Regions from separate parts of the Homo sapiens genome. Here all the other regions are linked to region 1. The links are contacts of gene promoters, found by promoter capture Hi-C in blood cells and fetal thymus (Javierre and others, 2016). All regions are on one chromosome and are shown on one strand. The core of a region is centred on a gene start or on the middle of the fragment in contact, and the rest is flanking DNA. Distances in the headings are between cores, read along the strand shown.

The links. The method cuts DNA at HindIII sites, captures the fragments that hold promoters and counts their contacts. A CHiCAGO score of 5 or more calls a contact.
Region 2: a contact is called between a fragment that was not itself captured here and the fragment with the promoter of NPC1L1 in region 1, in 8 of 17 cell types (M0 macrophages, endothelial precursors, M2 macrophages and 5 more). The highest score is 10.4, in M0 macrophages.
Region 3: a contact is called between a fragment that was not itself captured here and the fragment with the promoter of NPC1L1 in region 1, in 4 of 17 cell types (M1 macrophages, M0 macrophages, naive CD8 T cells and 1 more). The highest score is 8.1, in M1 macrophages.
Region 4: a fragment that was not itself captured here is called in contact with the fragment with the promoter of NPC1L1 in region 1 in 5 of 17 cell types (M0 macrophages, endothelial precursors, M1 macrophages and 2 more); the score reaches 10.8 in M0 macrophages.

Annotation. Positions count from the first base shown.
Region 1 is chr7:44,539,461-44,542,849 of GRCh38, reverse strand. NPC1L1 (NPC1 like intracellular cholesterol transporter 1) reads left to right here and starts at 1,520. Exons shown (of 19, transcript NM_001101648.2): 1 at 1,520-1,644; 2 at 2,508-3,389. The coding sequence starts at 1,591. RefSeq lists an enhancer at 2,227-2,848. The HindIII fragment of the contact is 6,836 bases long and covers 1-3,389 here.
Region 2 is chr7:44,208,746-44,212,134 of GRCh38, reverse strand. It overlaps YKT6 (YKT6 vesicular SNARE protein), which reads right to left. Exons shown (of 7, transcript NM_006555.4): 6 at 1,011-1,112. Among named protein-coding and RNA genes, the nearest start is that of YKT6, 9.5 kb to the right of the region's middle. The HindIII fragment of the contact is 2,346 bases long and covers 605-2,950 here.
Region 3 is chr7:44,225,428-44,228,816 of GRCh38, reverse strand. CAMK2B (calcium/calmodulin dependent protein kinase II beta) reads left to right here. Exons shown (of 24, transcript NM_001220.5): 19 at 1-21; 20 at 2,173-2,301. Among named protein-coding and RNA genes, the nearest start is that of YKT6, 26 kb to the right of the region's middle. The HindIII fragment of the contact is 6,943 bases long and covers 1-3,389 here.
Region 4 is chr7:44,244,939-44,248,327 of GRCh38, reverse strand. CAMK2B (calcium/calmodulin dependent protein kinase II beta) reads left to right here. Exons shown (of 24, transcript NM_001220.5): 6 at 1,136-1,208. Among named protein-coding and RNA genes, the nearest start is that of YKT6, 46 kb to the right of the region's middle. The HindIII fragment of the contact is 1,472 bases long and covers 837-2,308 here.

The sequences.
Region 1 (3,389 bases), core at 271-2,770:
CACGTGCTGGGGCGAAATCTTCCAGGAATGTCCTCTACCAGTGACAGATGAATGTGGTGGAAAGCTGTCTGTGTCCTTATTCCTTGGAGGGGACCTTCTTGGGCACGTCCCCACCAGTTCCCGGAGGTCCCTGGGGGCAGGAGCAAGCTCTTGGATGCATTCTGGTCAGCTTTCTTCCATCCCCTGGCTCATTCCCCATTCACCGACTGCTGTCATCTGGGGTCATCTCCCCAATAAACTCTTTGCACTGGGATCCTTGTTTCAGGATCTGTTTCTGGAGGAACTAGATGACAACACCGGGAACAGAGGACCTAGAGAGGCAGCTTCATGGGTGGTGGGGTGTCCGCCTCTGCCGGCCAGGGACTTGGGAGCAGTGCTGGGAAGGTGCTGGATGGAGCTGTCACTCACAGGGGCAGGTCCTTGGCTGCTGACTGTCTTCCTCTCCACTATGGCTGTCTTGAGAACTTAGGGGTCAGCCTGACCCTGCCTTGGCCCCCTTCCTCTCAGCCTCTGTCTTCTCCTGCATGAGGCTGGGTGGCTCCCCTGTGAATCAGGCAGGGGTCCACAGAACACTAGAGACAGGTCCCTTCCTGCAGCTGTCTCCAGTAGGTGGCCACGCAGGAGATGTTCCCAACAAGCTGCCCTTATCTGCAGCTCAGCTTTGGTAATGGGGGCCCATTACCAAATGGGGGTAAAGGTCATGGCCCATCCTGGTGATAGTGAGAACCCAAGGTAGGCCTTGAAGATTCCTATCAGGAGGGAGCAGAAAGTGTGTACCACACCCCTGGGCCCAGGTGGAGCAGGGCTGCTGCTCAAGGCTCCCAGCCATGCTCTGTCCCTTGCTAGGGGTGACCGGTGGGACAGGCCTGGGCAAGGGACAAGAGGGAGAAGGTCGGGGGGAAGAGGGGATGAAGAGCAAAGTGAGCAAAGGAGAGTCTTCCACTATCTGGGGTCTCTGTCAACTGTCAGGCCCTAGAGTGAGCTGTTCTTTCCCTTTGCTTCCTGGAGGAGGGGACTTTTGTCACTGCGTCACTCCACCCTGCCTGCCCCTCCGTTATCAGGCTGTTAATATTAATTAACAACAGTTGCTAGGGATGACAGTGCAGAGGGTTCCTCTGAGCCCATTGCTGGCCCTGGTCCCAAGAGGGGGTAGGGCAGAGCTGGGGTCTGAGGCTGAGCCAGGGAGGGTGCGGAGGTTCCTCGGCCATGCTGAGCTCCTGAGGCCGGGTCCCAGCCAGTGCCTGGTCCCATCTGTGCCTCCAGGCCCTGGCACCAACTCCAGCAGTGTTAGGGGCTAATAGCGTGGTCTCTCCCCTAGCTGACTCAGCCCTCTGGCTTCGGTCGCTTTGGGAAGTGAGTGGAGACCCTAGCACCTGCGTGATGAGGCTCATCTAAAGCGGGGGCCTGTGGACTGGGGCCAAACAGTGGGAGTGGTGGATCATTAACCAGCAGGGCTCAGCCTCATTGGTCCCTAACCCAGTCAGGCCAGGGTTGTCATCGAAGGGGAGGAGGCTGCCTTAATGTGTGTTCAGCCCTTGGCTGTTCCTGAGGCCTGGCCTGGCTCCCCGCTGACCCCTTCCCAGACCTGGGATGGCGGAGGCCGGCCTGAGGGGCTGGCTGCTGTGGGCCCTGCTCCTGCGCTTGGTGAGTCCCAGGGCTTGGCTCCACCTCCCCTGCGGCCTCCAGTTAGGGACCCTGGGGCCAGCCGTGTACCAGGCGAGCGTTACTGGGTGACAGCAAGGGAGCCTCAGGGCCTGCGGGCTGGGCAAGTCTCTGGACACATGAGGGATGCCAGGCCCCACAGAGGAGGGGTGCAGGTGGAGGGTTTCCAGGTTACAGGCTTGAATGCACACAGGGGTGAAAGAGGCTGCTGGACTGGGGTGCTCCAAGTCCCTCCTGTCACTGGCCCTACTGTGGGGTCCAGGCCTGCAGTTGAGGGAGGTCTGAGGCAAGGAGGTGCTGGGATGGGGTTACCTGGTGAGCATCACCTAGGGAGGACTGAGCACTCTGGAGGCTGGGAGAAGATCCAGCGCTGGCACCTCTTAAGTTCCTCGCTTACTTTGTGTCTGGGAGGTGGGTGACAGCTTTTGGCCTCAAGCAGGTGGTGGTAGTGGTGGTGGGAGTCGGGGGGCCTCCTGAACAGACTCTCCATGAGAGACCCTGGCCTCTGGATGTGGTGTACAGTGTGGGGACTCAGGCTGACTTTGACGTGGGCAGAGCCCGGGACCTTGGAGTCAGCTTTGCCTCCTTACCCATCTCTGGCCTCTCCAGCATGACTTTCCTAAGCTGCAGGTCTATCAGGCCACCCCCAGGAAGAAAGGCCAGTGTTGTCACTCCAACACTGGCTGGCTGGCACATGCCTCCAGGAGGCTTCCTACTCCCCACACTCCCCGCTTCCCTGCCCCTGCTCCATGTCCTTCTTACCCTCACACCCTCCCTGGCTGCCTGCTGCCTGGATGGCACCCAGCTGTGTCAGGGCCCACGCGTGATGTTGCTGTGCTCTGCAGGCCCAGAGTGAGCCTTACACAACCATCCACCAGCCTGGCTACTGCGCCTTCTATGACGAATGTGGGAAGAACCCAGAGCTGTCTGGAAGCCTCATGACACTCTCCAACGTGTCCTGCCTGTCCAACACGCCGGCCCGCAAGATCACAGGTGATCACCTGATCCTATTACAGAAGATCTGCCCCCGCCTCTACACCGGCCCCAACACCCAAGCCTGCTGCTCCGCCAAGCAGCTGGTATCACTGGAAGCGAGTCTGTCGATCACCAAGGCCCTCCTCACCCGCTGCCCAGCCTGCTCTGACAATTTTGTGAACCTGCACTGCCACAACACGTGCAGCCCCAATCAGAGCCTCTTCATCAATGTGACCCGCGTGGCCCAGCTAGGGGCTGGACAACTCCCAGCTGTGGTGGCCTATGAGGCCTTCTACCAGCATAGCTTTGCCGAGCAGAGCTATGACTCCTGCAGCCGTGTGCGCGTCCCTGCAGCTGCCACGCTGGCTGTGGGCACCATGTGTGGCGTGTATGGCTCTGCCCTTTGCAATGCCCAGCGCTGGCTCAACTTCCAGGGAGACACAGGCAATGGTCTGGCCCCACTGGACATCACCTTCCACCTCTTGGAGCCTGGCCAGGCCGTGGGGAGTGGGATTCAGCCTCTGAATGAGGGGGTTGCACGTTGCAATGAGTCCCAAGGTGACGACGTGGCGACCTGCTCCTGCCAAGACTGTGCTGCATCCTGTCCTGCCATAGCCCGCCCCCAGGCCCTCGACTCCACCTTCTACCTGGGCCAGATGCCGGGCAGTCTGGTCCTCATCATCATCCTCTGCTCTGTCTTCGCTGTGGTCACCATCCTGCTTGTGGGATTCCGTGTGGCCCCCGCCAGGGAC
Region 2 (3,389 bases), core at 528-3,027, 330 kb after region 1:
TAGCACTAGAACAGGGTGGGGGTGGAGGCCTTGAGGGAAGCTGTCCACAAGCAATTCCCATCACCAAGCACAAGGCGGGCCCCGGCTTCCAAAACTAGTCTGGGATCCTTTTTCCTTTCTTTTCTCACACCCCATTAATGCTATCAAAAAGTGAGTAAAATTCCTACAGTTAGGCCAGGTACAAACAAAGGACCAATAATACAAATGGGATTGGCAGAATATCTTAACTTTGCCCCACTCCTGTCTTCACACAATGCTATCTGACCACCACGGTGGTGTTTCTTCCTAGAAGATGGTCCTGAGGACAACAGATGTGGTTCCCACTTGGGATGTGGTTTGTGGGGACCACTGTTGCCACCTTCTCTCTTGCTTTCTGGTCACAGACTATCTTCCTAATCCCACCTAGCCATCTCCCTCCAATGTGCACATGAAAGCAAATGTGTGTGGACAGACCAAGTAAATTTGTCCCTATGACTATCCAACCATGGGCCAACAGTGCCATCTCCACATAGGAAGACATGAGCACTGACCTGAGAGAAAGCGGCAGTCAGCAGCACCCATCCTTGTCAATTAAATATTTTCTGTCAAAGGGAAATTAAAAGCTTAAGAACCTCTTCAGGAAGGCTGAATTGCTTGCATCTTAAAGACTTATGTCTACTCAGCAGAAAGAGGAATAAGATTCAACAGTAAATCTCTGGTGATCAGAACTTGAACCAGCCTTCCTGGACTGGGAGTAGGAGTTCAGAAATCAGCCAGAGCAGCAGAGGGCAGAGCAGAGGCAGGAGTGGAACAAGGCCTCGGCCCGCATCGACTCCAACGGCGCCCAAGTGAACTGCCTCCAACCACCTGGGCCTGAGGCGCTCACCTTAGGCTCTTGCCGCACAAGGAATCATCCACCATGATTCAACAGTCTAAGAAAGACCCGTTCATAGTGGAGAGTGCCAGAAGCAGCAAGCTGCGACTGCTCTCTAGAGAGAACACCCAGGAGGCAGCAGGTGCTGGGTACTCACAGTTTTATAGAAGGCTTTAGACTGTGTTCCCAGCACCTCGGATTTGGACACCAAGTCATCTAGCTTCTCACCTCGCTCTAACAGAGACTCCATGGTGTTGTGCTGGACAAAAAAGAAAAGAGAATCCAGCTCTGTTCAGTACGTGCCCTGACATGAGCCCCTCATATTTCAGTCATGGGGGAAAGTGCCTTACCTGGGTTCCTCTCCAACACACACAAACTTCACCTCTAGGTGTCGAGACTCGGTCCAAGAATAGTTACTGTCCAAGTGGATGGAACAGAACCTGGTGACATTCCCGTGAAATCTAGAAGATCTAACTGGGATGTAGCAGACTTCCCAAAAAGCTGTCCCCAGCACAGGCTTAGATAACCAGCACTCCAGGAAAACTCATATATATATATACACACACATTTATATATACATTTGTGTGTGTGTGTGTGTGTGCACGCACATGTGCGTGTGCATGGAGCTTTGGAAAAAAGAGTAGCTGGGCACTATATGATTGTACTGGGTTGGAGAGTGACCCACACCGCACCCCCCAACCCCAACCGCATCCCAGAAATTAACATCCCCAGAATCTCTGAATGTGACCATATTTAGAAATAGGGTCTTGGCAGATGTAACTAGTTAGGAAGAGGTAATACTGGATTAGGGTGGCATCTAATTCCATGACTGATGTCCTGGTAAGAAACGGAAACACACACACAGAAGGTCACGTGACGGCAGAGGCAGAGCCTGAAGTGATGCACCTCTAATCCAAGGAATGCCAAGGATGGCCAGCAGCCACCAGAGGCTGGAGAGAGGCCTGGGACAGACACTCAGAGCCCCAAAAGACACCAGCCAGGCCCACAGAGCTATCTGTTAAAAGCAAATATTTGAGGGTTTCTGTTGACAGCAGCCACAGGAAACAAAAGGCGGTGGGAAATGGCTATTGAGCACTTGATGTGAGGCAAGTCCAAACTGAGCAGCGCTCTGAGTACAGACACACCAGATTTCAGATGCAAACTCACACATGCTTCATTAGTAAGTTTTATACTGAAAAAAAAACAAGTTTTATACCGATTACATGTTGGAAAAATTGTATTTGGATATACTGCGTTAAGTAAAATATATAATTAAATTAAATTCTACCTATTTTCCTTTTATCATTTTAAAATATGGCTCCTAGAAAATTCTAAGTTACACACATGCCCCAAATATATACCAGACAGCACTATGACAGAACATGTCCTGCCTTCTAAATGGGCTATGTCCTAAATGTCATCACTACAAACTCTGACTTAGGAAATGAAAACACTGACCCCATGGGAAGGGGTCTAGAGATGGAGACCTCACAAGAGCCAGCAGCTCTGCTGCCAGGGCCCTCAGGAAGCAGCAGCTCGCTTCTCTCCTCAGATGGCCACTGCTGCAGCAGCTAGATGCACACATGAAGCGCCATAGAACAAGGAGCCAGCAAGAATGTCCTTCATCCCTACACACAGCTGAGCGACTCAAATTTTTAACACAGAAAGTTAACTGATTCAGATATGCACACCAATCATCTAGATTTTACAACTGCAGCTAGATGAGGCTGGGTGAATAGGACTCATCCACTCCCCACCGTGGGGAGAGGAGAAACAGCGGGTGTCCCAGGTGTCATGGTACTCAGACTAGGACTTGAGCAACAGAAAGAGATGGCTTGAGGAGAAAACGGAGAAATGCCACCTAGGTGGTAAGAAAGCTCACAAGGTTTCAAAAGACACAGATACCATGAGACTTTCACATCTATCGTTCATTCCAAAGCCACGTTATTTGGAGTGCAGTCAGCACACCTGTGTTTGAAGCCCCTGGGATGCTTTTTATAAAATGCAGGTTCCCAGGCTCCATCGCAGGCCAACAACTCCAACCCCAGGAGACGCTGATGTACACACTAAAGCTATGCCTGTGTAAATGGTAAAGCTTTGTATGTGGGTTTCAATCCACTCCAGGTATCTATCAACTGCTGAGCATGGTATAAACTAGGCACTGTATCATGAGCAGGATGGAAAGATGTCCCAGTGCTCATACGCTGGTCAGGGAGACATGTAAACAAGCAGTGACAAAACTGTGACATCTGGTCAGAAAGGCCCAACCTTCAGGCGCCTGTGTGTGAGCTGGGCAAGAAAGGGTATAAGAGAGAACAGGGCCCAGTCAGGAGACTGTGAGTTAGTTTGCACTTTATCCTGGGGCGGATCTGAGAGCTGCTGAAGGGTTCTAAGTTGTGCAGATCAATGACTACTCTCTGGTGGACAGACTGGAGGTGAGCAGGAGGCAAGGGGACCACTTAGAGGCAAAGGCTGTAAGAGAAAAACCTGAGAAAAACAGATAGCTGCTTACATTCCACTTGTATGCAAAAATTTA
Region 3 (3,389 bases), core at 392-2,891, 310 kb after region 1:
TAGGCCCCCTGTCCTCCCCGTGTAAGTAGTGGCCCCCAGGCCTGCCGCCTCTGCTGCCGGACAGCTCCCTGCGAATGGCCGGCGCTCAGCAGCTTCCCACCTGCATGCACGGCCCAGCTACCCTGCCCCGGCGCCGCAGCCTGGAGTCCTGCCCTGGCGGGGCTTCCTGTGGGCTCCCATGCTAACCAGCAGGGCAGCTCCTGGCTTCTCCCTAAGGGGCCCAGACCCCTCCACGGCTCCTGCTCCCACTGCCACTCCCCGCTCGCTGTCCAGCCCCAGGCCCCTCTCCAAAATGTCTGTCCCAGCCCTGGGCAGCCCTGGCCCCTCCGAGGCCCCCCATGCCCCTAGGCCCTCTCTGCTGATCACTGTCCCAGCCCCACAGACTTCACACCCACCCAGGGGCCCTGCCCATGGTGCCCAGGAGCTGCACTCAGGGCCACCCTGGTTCCTGATGTGGCCCCAACCCCTGAGCACCCTCCCTCAGTCTAGGAGGCTGAGGAAGGTGCCAAAACTGGAACCCCGACCAGGGTCTCTGGAGCTCACCAACAAGGGGATAGTACGGAGAATCATAAGCCTGGCCTCTGCTGACCTGGGCTGTCCTCATGGGGCCAGGCCAGGCCTCCTCTGTAACGCCCGTGACTCCCTCCTCTCCCTGTAACCCCGTCCAGCGTTCCTCAAGGGCCACTTACCTGACAGCTTCTTGCTGGCCAGCAGCCTCTCCCTGGAGGGTGCCCTCTGCCCCCAGCAGCTTCAGCCCACGCCACCCGACAGCCAGAGCATCTGCCCTTCACTCCTGCAGCCTCCTCTCCACGCACCACGCTGTCCGCAGCAGCACCCTCTGTCCCCCTGTCTCCCTCCGTCCCCCCATATCCCCCTCGGTCAGCCTACAACCTCTCCACGTCCCCCTAAGTCCACGCTCTATCCCTACATCCCCCTCTGTCCCCCAAATTCCCCTCTTTCCCTCATTTCCATTTTCCTCCCCAAACTCTGCTCTGCCCCTCACATTCTCCCTCTGTCCCCCACACCCTCCTCTGTCCCCCAGACTCTCCCTCTGTCCCCCACACCCTCCTCTGTCCCCCATATACCCCTCTGTCCCCCACACCCACCTTGGTCCCTTCACGCCCTTTTCTGTCCCCCACACCCCCTCTGTTCCCTACACTCTCCCTCTGTCCTCCAGACCCTCCTCTGTCCCCCACACTCCCTCTGTCCCCCACACCCCCTGTCCCCCACACTCTCCCTCTGCCCCCCAGACCCTCCTCTGTCCCCTACACTCCCTCTGTCCCCCATATCCCCCTCTGTCCCCCACACCCTCCTCTGTCCTCCACCCCCTGCCCCCCATACCCCCTTCTGTCCCCCACACTTCCTCTGTCTTCCACACCCCCTCCTGTCCCCCACACCCCCTCTGTCCCCCAGACTCTCCCTCTGTCCCCCACACTCCGTCTGTCCCCCACACCTCCTGTCTTCCACACCCCCTTCTGTCCCCCACACCCCCTCTGTCCCCCATACTCTCCTCTGTCCCCCACCTCCCCCTCTGTTCCCCACACCGCCTTCTGTCCCCCACACCCCCTCTGTCTTCCACTTCCCCTCTGTCCCCCACATCCCCCTCTGTCCCCTGCACCCTCCTCTGTCCCCTGCACCCTCCTCTGTCCCCTGCACCTCTCTCTGTCCCCCACATCCCCCTCTGTCCTCCACACTCCCTCTGTCCCCCACATCCACCTTGGTCCCCTCACGCACCCCCATCCCCCATGACCCCTTCTGTCCCCCACACCCCCTCTGTCTTCCACACCCCCCTCTGTCCCCCACACCCACCTTGGTCCCCTCATGCCCCCCATCCCCTACACCCCCACTTTGTCCCCCCACATGCCCCTCTGTCCCCCACGTTCCCTTCTGTCTCCCACGTCTCCTCCATTTCCCGTTTCCCTCTCTGTCCCCCAAGCTCCCCTCCATCCCCCACATCCCCTTCTTTCCCCTATATCCCCTCTGTCGGCCCAGGTCCACCATCTTCCCCCCACACCCCCCCATTCTCCCTTCCTCCCCTCTGTCCCCTTGTGCCCCATCCCCCACATCTGCCTCTGTGCCCCTCAATCTCTGGCTTGGCTGTCTGCCCATGGTTTCTCTCCTGCGTGCCCCCCGTGCCTGCCTTGTGTTCACGTCTCGTCTGTTCCGCCCCAGCCCCCAGGATCTCTGACATCCTGAACTCTGTGAGGAGGGGCTCAGGGACCCCAGAAGCCGAGGGCCCCTCGCCAGTGGGGCCCCCGCCCTGCCCATCTCCGACTATCCCTGGCCCCCTGCCCACCCCATGTAAGTAGCACCTTGAGTGGCCGTGGCAGCGGCTGCCCGGAGGGGCTCGGGGCGTGCGAGCCTGGCAGTGGTGCTCTGGGAAGGGCCATTCTTGCGGAGGAGGGCGGGGCACAGGATCCCTCTGCTGGGTCCCAGGGAATTGCTTTGAAGCACATGAAGGTGCCACTGGGTCTCAGAAAATGGAGGTTATGGTTATGAAGTGTGTATGACATATGTGTATAGGAAGAGCGTCCGAAAGAGCAGGTTTGTTGCCGACCCCAGCATTCGCAACCCTGAGGTCCACAGCTTTCTCCTGATGGGAGGGGAATGGGTGGCAAAGGGTCTGCGCGTGTGGCAAGGGCTAGCACGCCAGGAGCTGCTGGCTTGGGTCAAGGTGGACCTGCTGGGCCGGGACAGAAAAGTGTCAGTCCCGGCCTGAGACGCTCTAGCATTAGAGCTGTCCAAGTCCAGACAGCAGGGAGCAGGTGGGGATCGGGAGGCGCGGATCTGGGGGGCAGCTGGGGCCAGGCTGAAACAGAGCGGGCGGGACAGGAAGCACAGGCTGGGCAGCCTCCCCGGCCAGGGAGGAGCCAGGCTGGGCCACCTCCCGGTCTGTCTGCCGACTACCCGCAGTATCACTTACAGGGATGGATGACATCCCAGGGCTGCTGCCACCCCCACCTGTGGGGAGACACCAGACTGGGGGTGGTGTGGAGATACTCTTAGAGAAGAGGCTGCTGGGCCACGGGCTCGGCATGGCAGGGCAGTGGCTAGGTAAGTACTTGAGGGACAGGTGGGGTCTGCTTGCCACCGTCCCCTCTGCAGGCTGGGCCTGGGGGCTGCTGCAGGCGGCCAGGGCAGAAGGGTGTGGGGAGAGTGAACCCACAGGAGCAGCGGCTCGAGGAGGGGGATGCAGGCTGCAGGCTCAAAGGGGCACTGGATCCACCCTGGGTGCCCGAGAGAGCAGGGGGCAGCCCCTGGAGGGGTACTCACCCCCAGAGCTTCTGTGGTCGGCTGAGGACCCCCAGCAGGGGTTGACTGAGGGGATCAGAGGCAAGCAGCTGAGGGGAGAGGCCAGGTTCTTGATGCTGATAGGGTCGGGGTGCCTG
Region 4 (3,389 bases), core at 323-2,822, 290 kb after region 1:
TGTGCTCTAGGACAGGTGTCAGGGAGGTGGCCTGAGAGCAGCTTGGACCTCTCCTCCCAGCCAGTCATGGCCTGGAAGGGCCCTGGACTTCTGCCAACAGCCCTCCCTGACTATGAGAGGAAGGGTTGAAGGGGAAGCTCCGTGTGCTCAGTGCTGTGCACACACAGCCCCCTGCCCAGCCCCTCAGATCCCTGGGAGCTGAACTAGATGCCCCTAGTGCTGCTGGAACTGAGCCACCCAACACGGCAGCCACCAGCCAATGTGGCAGCTTGGGTTTCACTTTTTATTTTTTTCTTTTTGAGATGGACTCTCCCTCTGTCACCCAGGCTGGAGTGCAGTGGTGCCATCTTGGCTCACTGCAACCTCCACCTCCTGGGTTCAAGCAATTCTCCCTTCCTTAGCCTCCTGAGTAGCTGGGATTACAGCCGCCCACCACCACACCCAGCTAATTTTTGTATTTTTAGTAGAGACGGGGTTTCGCCATGTTGGCCAGGCTGGTCTTGAACTCCTGACCTCAGGTGATCCGCCCACCTTGGCCTCCCAAAGTGCTGGGATTACAGGTATGAACCACCGCGCCCAGGCAGGTTTCACTTTTTATTAAAATGAAATAACATGTGCCCGAGCACATTATTTCTGCTCCAGCACAGAGCAGGGTCCTGGTGCCTGGGGCTTTCTCACACACCAGGGCAGCCCCCTGCCCCCACCCCCAGCCGCCTTGACCCTTCCCTGCCTTGGTTTTCTAGCCCGCTCGCCCGGCCTGCTCACCTCAGCCTGCCTTACAGGGTACAGACTCAGCCTGGCCTCCCTCCTGAGGGTGCCCAGCTTAGGGTCAAGCTTGGCCAACAGGAGCCTGGGGACAGGGGTGTTTCCTTTGAAAGTCACTTCTGTGTGCCTAGCCATGCCCTCTGAACAGATATGGGCCCAGAGGGGAAGGCAGGGCCAGGGCCAGAGTTGCTGGCCTTGGAGGTGAGGAAGAAGCCCCAGAGGCCCCTCCTGGCCAGCATCTCCTCTCACCTTGACTTGCTTTGTCCCCCTGGTCCCCCCAGGCCACACAGCACCATTGCCCCTGCCCCCAGTGCCTCCTCTTGCTGCTCCCCAGGGCCACTCGCACTAACCCACCTGCTGTTTGCCACAGTCACTGTATCCAGCAGATCCTGGAGGCCGTTCTCCATTGTCACCAAATGGGGGTCGTCCACAGAGACCTCAAGGTGAGTCCCCACCCCACTCTGTGCCAGGTGTCTGTTGTCTGTACCTGCATGCTGTGTACAAGGAAGTGTGAGGGGCTGGACAGTGTGTGGCACTGTGGAGCTTGGAGGGGTGAGGTGTATGTGTGTGTGTGTCCTTGTGTGCATGCATGGAGGAGTGTGTGCATGCATGTGCATGTGTATGTGTGTGCATGTCCTGTGTGGATGGTGTGCATATGTGCGTGCATGTGTGGAGGCATGTGTGCATGCTTATGTGTGTGCACCTGTATGTAAATGTGCATGTGTCATGTGCATAGAAGTATGTGTGTGCATGTGCATACGTGTGTACATGGAGGTTCGTGTGTACATATGTGCATGCCTGGGTGGAGGCATTGTGTGAGTGTGTGTGCACATGTGTGTATACATGCTTGTGTGTGCATCTTGCACCTGTGCAGGGATGTGCATGTATGTGCACACTTAGAGGTGTGAGTGCATATGTCTGCATGAGTGGTGGCGTGTCTGTGTGCCTGTGTGCATGTGTGTATACATATGGCATGTGTGCATGCACGTGTGTGGGGACTGTGCATGCATGAGTATGCAAGTGTGTACAAGTGTGTACATGTGTGGGCATGTTCATGCGCATGCATATGTGAATGTGTACATGTGGGTACATGTGTGCGTGTATGCATGTGTGTGTGTGTCTGTGTGGGCATGTGTGTACATGTGCATGTGTGTGCACTTGTGTGTTGGAGGGGTGTCTGCACATGGCCCTCCCTACCCCTCCGGACCTCCAGGGCTGGGAGGGGTTAGTCTTCAGAAATCAGCCTATTACACCGCACTCCAGCCTGGGCAATAGAGAAATCAGCTAGTAACAAATGTCCACTCAGGGTCTAACTGTGAGCCCCCACCAAGACTCCACTGTGGCAGATGAGGACACAGGTGACAGGGCTGACGCCGCTGGGAGCAGAGTGGTGAGAGCAGGACTCGCCAGGGTCTGCCAAGTCCTCCCAGCCCTTTCCTCAAGTCTCTGCTGCCCCCAGCTCAGGTCTGGGCAAAGCAGTTCTAGGCTGTGTTCGGAAGAAGGTTGGTCACCCCCCAGGGCACAGGGTGGCCTCTCAGAAGCTTAGCTGTCTCTCTGCTCCTTCCTCTCTCCCTTCCTTCCTCCCTTTCCTTCCTTCCAATCTCCTTTCCTCCTTCTTCAACCCCACCTTCCCCAAGGCTTGGTTCAGCCTGCTGCTTCTCTGTAGACAGGCAAGCAGTGCAGACCCTGGGGCCATCACCCTGATGGCATTTTTAAGACCAACCTCCCCATTGGTTTTCATGCTGAATGGGGGTCACACCTTTCCTTAGGCCATCGATGATCTTTGTGCTGCTCTGGGGAGAGTGTCACACCAAGAGCAGATCCGGGACCCTCTCCTATACCCTTTACACGCCACCGTACCCCCTGTTCCCTCTCATCTCTGCATCCCAAGCATGTCCTGCTTTGTCTCACCTGAGTCAGCCTCACTCAGGCGCCTCTGGGAGGAGGGGGCCCCCAGGTGCTCCCCTCGGGGCCACGTGGGTTGGTGCTAGGACTCAGTGGCTCTCCTGTGAGGGGCCACAGACATTGTGTTACCAGACCCCATGATTTATCTGGTTAACTCTGGAGCCAAGGCATAGAAGTAGAGGTCAGTGGTACCTCCTCCCCAATTTGGGGGACAAACAGAATTCTTGCTGTCTCAACCTCCTGTTGAGGGGGACAGGATGTCCTTTTCTCCTGGACAGAAATCCACCATCTTGATCGTGACAGCCCAGGAAGCAGCAGAGTAGTGGGGTTGCTCTCACCCCACTGGGGAGGGTGGTAGAGAGCAGAGGGCAGTTGATGTCATCCCAGGGAACTGCAAAAGAGCCAGGGTGGGGGCATCACTGGGTGGCCTAGCAGGGGTGGGCACAGCCTGAGAGCTACCCTGGAGCCTCCAGGCCTTCTTGCCCAGTGCTTCCTACGGTCCATGTTCACTTAACGCTCCTTCTCTTCGGAAGAACTGCTGGTCTGTTTCCTCTGGGGAGGGGGGACATGCAGCAAGTCTGCTCTGGGCTGGGTGGAGAAATGCAGCCCCTGACCCCTCCTCTGTCCAACTTCTCCATGTAGCTGCACGGGGAGCTTGGGGCCTCCACCCACTCACGTTGGCAAAATCACCATGTCCAGTGGCCTGTGGATTGGTGCTC